Linked DNA regions of Homo sapiens: all the other regions are linked to region 1. The links are contacts of gene promoters, found by promoter capture Hi-C in human tissues and cell types (Jung and others, 2019). All regions are on one chromosome and are shown on one strand. The core of a region is centred on a gene start or on the middle of the fragment in contact, and the rest is flanking DNA. Distances in the headings are between cores, read along the strand shown. Region 1 holds the start of CDC45 (cell division cycle 45). Region 2 overlaps LOC105372859 (a long non-coding RNA gene). Region 3 has its middle 20 kb from the start of SEPTIN5.

Region 1 (3,165 bases), core at 385-2,884:
CAAAAACATTAGCCAGGTGTGGTGGCGGGTGCCTGTAGTCCCAGCTACTCAGGAGGCTGAGGCAGAAGAATGGCATGAACCCAGGAGACACAGCTTGCAGTGAGCCGAGATCGTGCCACTGCACTCCAGCCTGGGCGACACAGCGAGACTCCGTTTCAAAAAAAATAAAAAATAAAAAAATAAACCAAAATAAAATAAAATAATTTTAACTAGACCATATTAAAAACTGCTAGATTCCAAGCACCTTACAATCAAATTTCTGCAAAACAAGTTAAAACAAGTTCAAAGTTGGGGCTATCCACATTCATTATCTTTTTTTGCTGTCAATTTTGCTTCTACAACTTGGGCGTGGTAAGTCACCAGTAAATACAGCATGTTTTTCTCTTCCATATTGCCTAATGTAGCTGATACTTAAATACACGCTTAATCTATCGTGGAAATAGAATGCTGTGTCAAGAAATTACAATTGAGTAAAAAGCCACGTTATTCTAAAACGCATCTTCAATACCTGTTCTTTATGCTCAAGAAATGCAGTTTCAAGTTCTTGCCACCCAGAAACTGGAACCAGCGTATATTGCACGTGGTCACACTGGAACAAGGCCTGGAGAGAGAGTGTTTTCAAAGCCTATCTTATTTAGGACATTAGCAATTTACCTTGAAAAGAAACTGAGGAAGATTAGACGGGTTGAGAGACAAAAGACACGGGATAACATTAAAGCTAGTGAAATGCTTACGGGAAAAGCTAGGTGCTAGGGATATGAGCGTTTACCATACCATTCTGTGAATTTTGCAAATTACCAAAGTAAAACATCGGGGAGAAATGCCGATTTAACTTCCAGGCCTTCTGAAAAGTTCCTGATCCAAGGGCCTGACCAAAACAACGTAAATACTATGCCCTATTCAAAACCAAACTAACGATCTTCCCTAATAGACTAGGGGCTCCCATATTCCCAGCAACACCTGTGACACGACTATACCCACAGTTGTCACAGATTCCTCTCTCTCAAATCCCCCATTTGAGAGGCCACGACAGATCCAAAGTTTCCCCCAAATGCAACTGCTGTGTTCACCTATTAATATTAATAGCTTATTGCAAAAATACAAACTAGTCTCTTTACCTTTTACTTAATCCTTTATCCCACCCCACACCGTTGGGACAGGGAGGCAACCTCTCCTCCGAGTCTCTCTCCTCTCACTTGCTGTTCACCTCCTGCCCTGCTCCCTCTCCCACCCTAAGCCCTCAGCACCCATCCTGACACTCTGCCCGCCCTGCGCCCCCACGCAGCACCCTCACCTCGCGCGCCGGCCCCGCCCTCCTAGGGTCCGCAGAACTCACCTGAAGGATCTTGCACGCACACAGAGCATCCACGTCCGAGGCCACGAAGAGAAGGACCCTCTATCGGGGAAGAGCAGACCGGCTGAACACGGCGACCCGAACCCCGGCCCTCCCCTGCCTCCCGGTCACCCACGGTCGCTCCCCCTCATCCCTTCCCCACCGGCAAGGCCTCGGCGGGGGTCCCGGACTGGGCGTCACCTGGCTCTGGACCACCTCGTAGAACTCTTTGCGGAAATCGGACACGAACATAGCCACGGCGGCCGGACGCCTGGCGCTCGCGCTGAGGTACCAAGAGCCCGGCGGCGGTCAAGACTCCCGCCAAATCACGGCTCCTCCGATTGGTCCAGGGATCACCAACCAATAGCTTCTTAGTTCCCAGCCTTCCTTTCTTTCTGATTGGGCCACATTGGAGGCGGCCATTAGCGCTCTGCCATTCACGGCCAGAAAACTCCAGCCCGCCCCCAAAGAAGCGTCACCTCTGAGGCCGAACGCAAACACTGTTGCCCCCTTCAACTCTGACTCGCTTTTACCCAGAAAAGCGACGCTGGGCGGACATCTTTACTTTGGGAAGAGAAGCCTACTGCCTCCCACTGGGAACCCTCAGGGAAAGTATACTTCTAACCATACATTAAACTCAGTCACATACCCAATGGGGCAGCATTTACGTTTGCAATAGGTTTTTGGTGTGGTTTGAAGAAGGATTTGTAGCTTAGTTCCGCCCGAGTCCTCGATGGCTGAAGCAGAGGCAGTCTGGGTAGTGCATTGTGGGTAGTGTAGTCGTAAGGACAATGGGCCCTACTAAATTCGTCTGGAGGGGAATACTGTCAACACGTAATTTAAAATAACGTTTAAAAATACCTATAAAAGGGGAAATAAATCACGAAAGGGCATTTTAATGCTTCTACTGAGGGTGTTTTAGAGCCTAGCGTCTTCGCCTGGCCTTTTCTCTTTTGCAGCCGACGCTTTGTCCCGGGCACCCCCCCTCCGGGTCTCGGGTCCGGCACTTCCGGTGAGCCTCTGGGGCGTACCGGCTTGGCGCGGCGGCAGCGGCAGCGGCGGCTGGGAGAGCGGTCGGCGGGGTTTCTTCGTTGCATTGCCTGAGAGGAGCGGAGTCTGCCAGGTGGTGTCCATCATGGTAAGCGCTGACGGGCAGCGGGCGGGGGCTGGGCCTTGGCCCGGGGCCTGAGGTAGGGCCCGGCGGGGCAGGGCGGGGCGGGACGGCGGCGGAGGTGCCGAGTCACCCGGGCCTGAGTCCGGCCTGCAGGCTCATCGGCCGCACCGGGCACAAGCAGGACCCTTGACCACTAACCGCCTGTGGTCGCGTCCGCCGGTCCTGAACGTGGCTCGCATTCTGTCTCAGCCGGACTTGCCCTCCTTGACGAAAGAAAGGAAGGTTTGTGTCCATTCACGGGTTTCCCAAGTGCTGGACGCGCAACAGGTTTCCATAAACCCAAAGTTAGTTGCAAGGTTGCTGGGGATGGGAACAGAATCAGGGCGCTCCCCAGGGAGAATCCGTAGTGGGCATCCCCCGCTCTTGGGGGACACCCAGCTCTTGCCCCAGCTCCGTGAGCTCCGTGCCTACGGGTTCGTGCCTTCGAATCTGTACAGCGGTGTTGTGTTCGGTAATGATAACGATGGAAGCTAATACCTGCTGGTACATTTCCTGTTACACAGCTTTTAACACCTGTACTCCCTCATCGCGGCTTATTTCTTTTAATCCCTACAATCCCTTTGGAAGCAAGGATGATGATGATTTTAAACATGAGAAAACTAACGTTTACAGAGGTACTTTATTCGAGTCACAGAAGTAGGGACTGGAGAGTTGAAGC
Region 2 (3,406 bases), core at 802-3,301, 150 kb after region 1:
TTGGGTATATTGGAGAATTATCAGCAAAGTTGGAATTTTATTAGAAAGTGATCCAGACGTTGATCTACAGGAGAAGAAACAGAATCACAGAATCTTTAAGCACAGTGAGGGCTGAGTACCACCCACTCCTGGGTCCTGATCTTTGTCACCACCACCCAGTGTGTGGGTCTGAGCCTGGAGAAGGAGCCTTGGACTTGGAGTCAGAGGCCGGGGTAACTGACCACTGATCTCTGGCCTAGCAGCCATTCCACTCCATGTCTCACTCGGATGTCAAGTGGCTGGATGAGACCCAGGCATGTGTTCATGCCAAATAAAGCCAGGATAGTTTGTGTGAGTGTGTGTGTGTGTACACATAAAAAGCCAGGCTGCAAGTGGGACTCTTAAGGAATGAAGAGCCAGAGACTTGCTGTGCAGGTGAGGCAGCTCCCTTAGCAACTATGCAGCAAGACATTGCGAGCTTTGTGGAGCTCCAGGAAGCAATATATGCCAACAGGCCTGTCTGGGCTCCAAACCAGCAAACATCTGGGCCTCAGTTTTTTAGCTGTCAAATAGAGATTGAGACTAAAAAAATCTGCACTGGGGTCGGGCACAGTGGCTCACACCTATAATCCCAGCACTCTGGGAGGCCAAGGTGGGCAGATCACGAGGTCAGGAGTTCGAGCCAGCCTGACCAACATGATGAAACCCCCGTCTCTACTAAAAATACAAAAATTAGCTGGGTGTGGTGGCACACACCTGTAATCCCAGCTACTCGGGAGGCTGAGGCAGGAGAATTGCTTGAACCCGGGAGGCAGAGGTTGCAGTGAGCCAAGATCGCGCCACTGCACTCCAGCCTCGGCAACAGAGCAAGACTCCGTCTCAAAAAAAAAAAAAAAAAAAAAAATCTGCAACGTTATGAGGACAAATTGAGATTGTGTGGGCAAAGTCTTCGCACGTTTCCTCCCTTGAAGGAAACAGCAGTCGTGAGTGACTTTACCACCACCGTTTGGAGATGATGAAGAGATAAGCAGAAAACATCAAGGCCTTCAACTTACAGACAAGATGGAGTAACAGGGACCAGGTTGACCCTTCTACCTGAAACAACCAAAGGAGCCCGTCAAAAATACATGCAATGGTGGTTTCAAGACACTGGATACCATGCTGGGCACAGTAGCATGCGCTTGGAGACCTAGCTACATGGGAGGCTGAGGTGGGAGGACCATTTGAGGCCAGGAGTTCAAGGCTGCAATTAGCCATGATCATGGCACTGCACTCCAGCCTGGGCAACACAGGAAGATCCCATCTTGAAGAAAAAAAAGAAAAAGAAAAAAACAGAAGAAGACACTCCAGGTAGTACGCTTGGGCAATCATGGGGCTCACCTTGTTTGTATCCCATCTTGGCAGGGATTACTGTCCTTTGTTTTCTGATATCCAGAGAGAATTTCTAGGCCACAGCAAGAGGAGGCAGAACTGAGGTAGAGCCCAGTGGACTACTTGAGCTGAGGAAATGGAGCTGAGAGTCCAAGGAGACTAAGGCAGCACTGCTTCAGATCCACCTACCAAAAAATAAAAGCAAGACCCAAAATGATCACACTGTTTCCTGACCAACATAGTAAAACCTCCTCTCTACTAAAATACAAAATTAGCCAGGCATGGTGGCACATGGCTGTCATCCCAGATACTTGGGAGGCTGAGGCAGGAGAATCACTTGAACCTGGGAGGCAGAGGTTGCAGTGAGCCAAGATTGCACCACTGCATTCCAGCCTGGGCAACAAGAGTGAAACTCCGCCTCAAAAACAAAAAATTAGCCAGTCATGGTGGTACACACCTGTAATTCCAGCTACTCAGGAGGCTGAGGCATGAGAATCGCTTGAACCCAGGAGACAGGTTGCAGTGAGCTGAGATCGCGTCACTGCACTTCAGCCTGGGTGACAGTGCGAGACTGTCTCAAAAAAAATTTAAAAAGCTGGGCGCGGTGGCTCACGCCTGTAATCCCAGCACTTTGGGAGGCTGAGGCGGGCGGATCATGAGGTCAGGAGATCTAGACCATCCTGGCTAACACGGTGAAACCCCGTCCCTACTAAAAATACAAAAAATTAGCCTGGCGCAGTGGTGGGTGCCTGTAGTCCCAGCTACTCGGGAGGCTGAGGCAGGAGAGTGGCGTGAACCAGGGAGGCGGAGCTTGAAGTGAGCCAAGATAGCGCCACTGCACTCCGGCCTGGGCGAAAGAGTGAGACTCTGTCTCAAAAAAAATAAAAAAATAAAAAGAAAGAAAGAAAGAATTTATGACTAAGGACTCAAAAGCAAATACAACAAAAAAGTAGACAAATTAGACAAACTAAAAAGCTTCTGTACAGCAAAAGAAATAACAGTAACAACACATATCTATTAGAATGGCTTACATTTTTTAAAAAGACAATAATGTGTATTAGTGAGGATGTGGAGCAACTGGAACTCTCATGCATTGCTGGTAGGAAGAATAGTTACTTTGATAAACAGTGTGATCGTTCCTCATAGAATTAAACATATACTTGCTCTATAACCTAGGTACTCTATTCCTACGTCTGTTGGTTTTTCTCAAGATGGAGTACGTTTTCCTCAGGAGGATGGCTCAGGACAGGTGCAATGGCTCACGCCTGTAATCCCAGCACTTTTAGGAGGCCAAGGCAGGTGGATCACTTGAGGCCAGGAGTTCGAGACCAGCCTGGCCAACATGGTGAAACCCTGCCTCTACTAAAACTACAAAAAAAAAAAAAAAAAAAAAAAAATTAGCCAGGTGTGATGGCAGGTGCCTGTAGTCTTAGCTACTCAGGTGGCTGAGGCAGGAGAATCGCTTGAACCTGGGAAGCAGAGGTTGCAGTGAGCTGAGATTGTGCCACTGGACTCCAGCCTGGGTGACAGAGCAAGATTCCATCTCAAAAAAGAAAAGATTATGGCCAGGCACAGTGGCTCACGCCTGCAATCCCAGCACTTTGGGAGGCCAAGACCGGCGGATTACTTGAAGTCAGGAGTTCGAGACCAGCCTGGCCAAAATGGTGAAACCCTGTCTGTACTAAAAATACAAAAAATTAGCCAGGCATGGCGGCACGCACCTGCAATCCCAGCTACTTGGGAGGCTGAGGCAGGAGAATCACTTGAACCCAGGAGGCAGAGGTTGCAGTGCGCCGAGACCATGCCATTGCACTCCAGCCTGGGCAACAGAGCGAGACTCTCAAAAAAAAAGAAAAGGATGGCTCATGTTTTGCTTAAAAAAAAAAAAACGGCTTTACTGAAATAGTTAACAGCATGCGATTTACAATCTAATGATTTTCAGTGTAGTCACATCATATGTGCAGCCATCACCACAGCCATTATTAGAATCTTTTCATCACCTCAGTAAGAAACCCCATACACTTTAACCACAGCCATTATTAGAATCTTTTCATCA
Region 3 (3,129 bases), core at 235-2,734, 220 kb before region 1:
TGGGGGCCATCCCTGTGTACAGTCACACCTGGTCACAGCTGTGTGGCACCAGATGTGGTGCGGGAGGTGGGGGAGGCATCGGCGTGACCAGCTGGATGATGGGCAGGGCCATCGGTTGTCTCTGTGACAGCCTCTGAGACACGGGCGCAGGGGTCTGGTGGGGGCTGTGTAGGTGAGGCTAGAGCCCACTGGGGAAGTGTTCCTGGGGGGCTGGGGGCTGCGGGGGGTGTGGGGGAGGAGATTCCCGAACAGAGCAGGGAAGCCAGGCCGGTGGTGTGTGCTGCTGGGGAGCTGCTGAGGCTCCTTCCCGCCCTGCTGCCCTGTATCCTGACTGGGAAACAGAGCCCCGCACAAACAAGGCTGTTTGGGTTGGCTGGGGTTCGCTGGGAGGATTGCAGTGCTGAATGGAGCCATCTCAGGCTCCAGGAGAGGCGCTGAGTGAGAGAGCACATTCCGTGGTGACTGTAGGCCTGGCGCTGTCCCGCCCAGTTTGGGGAGCAGGCTCTGTGTTGTGCTTGGCCAGCTCACTCCAAAGGAGCAGTGCCTCGTGGGGGCAGCAGCGAGTCTCCAACGGCCGGGGCGTGTTTCCTGTGCAGACGACCCCTCCTCGCTGAAACTCATGATCCAAGGAGATACCTAAGAAAGCAACTCCTGGCCGGGCGCGGTGGCTCACGCCTGTAATCCCAGCACTTTGGGAGGCCGAGGCGGGTGGATCACGAGGTCAGGCGATGGAGACCATCCTGGCCAACACGGTGAAACCCCGTCTCTACTAAAAATACAAAAAATCAGCCGGGCGTGGTGGCGGGCAACTGTAGTCCCAGCTACTCGGGAGGCTGAGGCAGGAGAATCGCGTGAACCCGGGAGGCGGAGCTTGCAGTGAGCCGAGATGGAGCCACTGCACTACAGCCTGGGTGACAGAGCGAGACTCCGTCTCAAAAAAAAAAAAAAAAAAAAAAGAAAGCAACTCCTGACAGAGGGCAAGCGGCTGGGACCCTGGCCCAAGGTGGCTGCACTGCCCTCGGCAAACTACCCAGTGCCTTGGGTCCAATCGGGGGTGGGGAGACGCTCTGGGGACCTCCCTCGCCTCTCCTTGCCTGGCCACCTCCTGGCAATATTTCCCGCCTCTTCTGCACTGCTCGCTGACCTTTGCTGGTGTCAGGCCTTTGTTCAGGCTTGTCCCCACTTTTTAGCACGGTTTAAGCAAAGTTTAGAGGAAATTTTTCTAAATTTCGGTAAAAATTTGAAAAACATTAAAAAATTTCTCAAAGTTATTTTAGCAAATGTGCTTTTGTCTGGAGGCCGGCTCCTCCTGGCTGTGCTCTGAGCCTGCTGGCATCCCCGACAGGGCCTGCTGCCCCAGCACTGCTGCTTGACCAGTGGCTCTCCTGCACATTTCATTTTTCACTTACACATTAGGCTCTCCCTCAAGGGAATCAGCCCAAGAGCAGGGCCCTGCGGGCCTTGTCCACACTGCTTCCCCGAGGCGCATAGAAATGACTTCTCCCCACCCTGCGCAGTGACTCGTAATCCCAGATCGCTTGTGCTCAGGAGTTTGAGACCAGCCTGGGCAACACGGCGAAACCCCGTCTCTACCAAAACAAACAAACAAACAGCTAGGTGTGGTGGCGCATGCCTGTGGTTCCAGCTTCAGGAGGCTGAGGTGGGAGCATCACTTGAGCCTGGGAGGCAGAAGTTGCAGTGAGCTGAGATCGCGCCACGGCACTCCAGCCTGGGTGTCAGAGTGAGACCCCATCTTGAAAAAAAAAAAAAGAAAAGAAAGAAATGACTTCTCCCGTGCAAAACTGATCCAAGGGTCTCTCATGATTTTTGTTGTTCATTTGCTTTAGTGTAGGCAGTGTGAAGACCTCACCTGGGTGTGCCACCAATGGAGGCTGCAGGCCCCGGCTCCAGTGAAGGCTGGTGCTGCTGCTGCCCTGTCCAGGACGGCTCTGCATCTTCCTCCCAGAAGCCCAGACTCCCCTGTGGGCTGCCCACCTGGCTGCAGCTCCTGAATGTCTGGTAGGCATCACACCCTTCATGGATGCACCTGCAAAGAAACTGCACTGTGCTTGCCCGGGGGTCCCCCGTCTGACTGGTGACTGCACCATTTGCTCAAATAAAATCCTCAGGGTCACCTACTTGTCCTGCATTGGATCCATCAGCAAGTCCTGCCGATTCTATCCCTAGATGCATTCAAAATGTTCTCGCCTGGCTTCATCACCACCTGTGTCTGTGTCCTGAGGCACTGCAGACCGGTGGCTTAACCACAGGCATTTATTGTCTTGTCTCGGAGGCTGGGAGTCCAAGATCAAGGTGTGGGCAGGGCTGGTTCCGATTGAGGCCTCTCTCCTTGCCTTGCGGGTGGCACCTTCTCCCTGAGTCCTCCCGGAGTTGTCCCTCTGTACATGTCTGTGTCCCAATTTCTTCTTAGAAGGACACCAGTCATATGGGATCAGGACCTACCCCCTCATGAATTTATTTTAACTTAACTACCTCCTTAAGGACCCTACCTCCAAATACACATTCGGAGGTCCTGGGGGTGAGGGCTTTGGTGTGGAGTTTTGGAAGGGAGAACATAAATCAGTGCATAACAACACCCATGCCACCCTCATCCCTGCTGCCTCCGCTCAGGCCTTCCATCTGGGGCCACACTCGTCCTCACGTAGCAGTGCCGACTGTTCAGGTCGCCACTCCACCTGAGCCATGCGCACAAGACCCACGTAAGGAGACCTAAGGCCTGGAACTTAGACTCTTGGGACGCCTGCCCGGGACGAGGTCAGCAGGCCCCTCACTCTCCTAGACACAGGGGCCTGCGCACTGCCCGGAGTCTCCCAGTCCTTCTCTGTGCCAGCACGGATTGGTATTTTATTTTAAATGACAGCTTTATTGACACAATTCAAAGACCATACAATCACCCACTCAAAGTGTACCAGTCAGAAGTTGTTGGCATATTCAGAGTTGTGTATCCATCACCACTGGGTAACTCTAGAACATTTTAAACTGAGACGTCATTCACACACCATAAAATCCCGACACGTGCCCCAACACCGATGAACCTTGAGGACGTTATGCTAAGAGACGCCAGCGACGAAAGGGCAGATACCATGTGGTTCCACGTATGTGAGGTGC

What was found. Contacts are between HindIII fragments. The study calls those that stand out against the background at their distance.
Region 2: a fragment that was not itself captured here is called in contact with the fragment with the promoter of CDC45 in region 1 in 1 of the 25 tissues and cell types used here (lymphoblastoid cells).
Region 3: a fragment that was not itself captured here is called in contact with the fragment with the promoter of CDC45 in region 1 in 2 of the 25 tissues and cell types used here (IMR-90 fibroblasts and stomach).

What each region holds. Positions count from the first base shown.
Region 1 is chr22:19,478,389-19,481,553 of GRCh38, reverse strand. It overlaps CDC45 (cell division cycle 45), which reads right to left and starts at 1,634. Exons shown (of 19, transcript NM_003504.5): 1 at 1,535-1,634; 2 at 1,337-1,396; 3 at 509-601. The coding sequence starts at 1,585. UFD1 (ubiquitin recognition factor in ER associated degradation 1) reads left to right here and starts at 2,361. Exons shown (of 12, transcript NM_005659.7): 1 at 2,361-2,471. The coding sequence starts at 2,469. RefSeq lists silencers at 1,685-1,734, 2,525-2,594 and an enhancer at 1,825-2,124. The HindIII fragment of the contact is 17,956 bases long and covers 1-3,165 here.
Region 2 is chr22:19,326,527-19,329,932 of GRCh38, reverse strand. It overlaps LOC105372859 (a long non-coding RNA gene), which reads right to left. Exons shown (of 6, transcript XR_938002.3): 2 at 1,360-1,535. Among named protein-coding and RNA genes, the nearest start is that of CLTCL1, 37 kb to the right of the region's middle. The HindIII fragment of the contact is 5,118 bases long and covers 1-3,406 here.
Region 3 is chr22:19,693,310-19,696,438 of GRCh38, reverse strand. No RefSeq gene overlaps it. Among named protein-coding and RNA genes, the nearest start is that of SEPTIN5, 20 kb to the left of the region's middle. The HindIII fragment of the contact is 5,757 bases long and covers 1-3,129 here.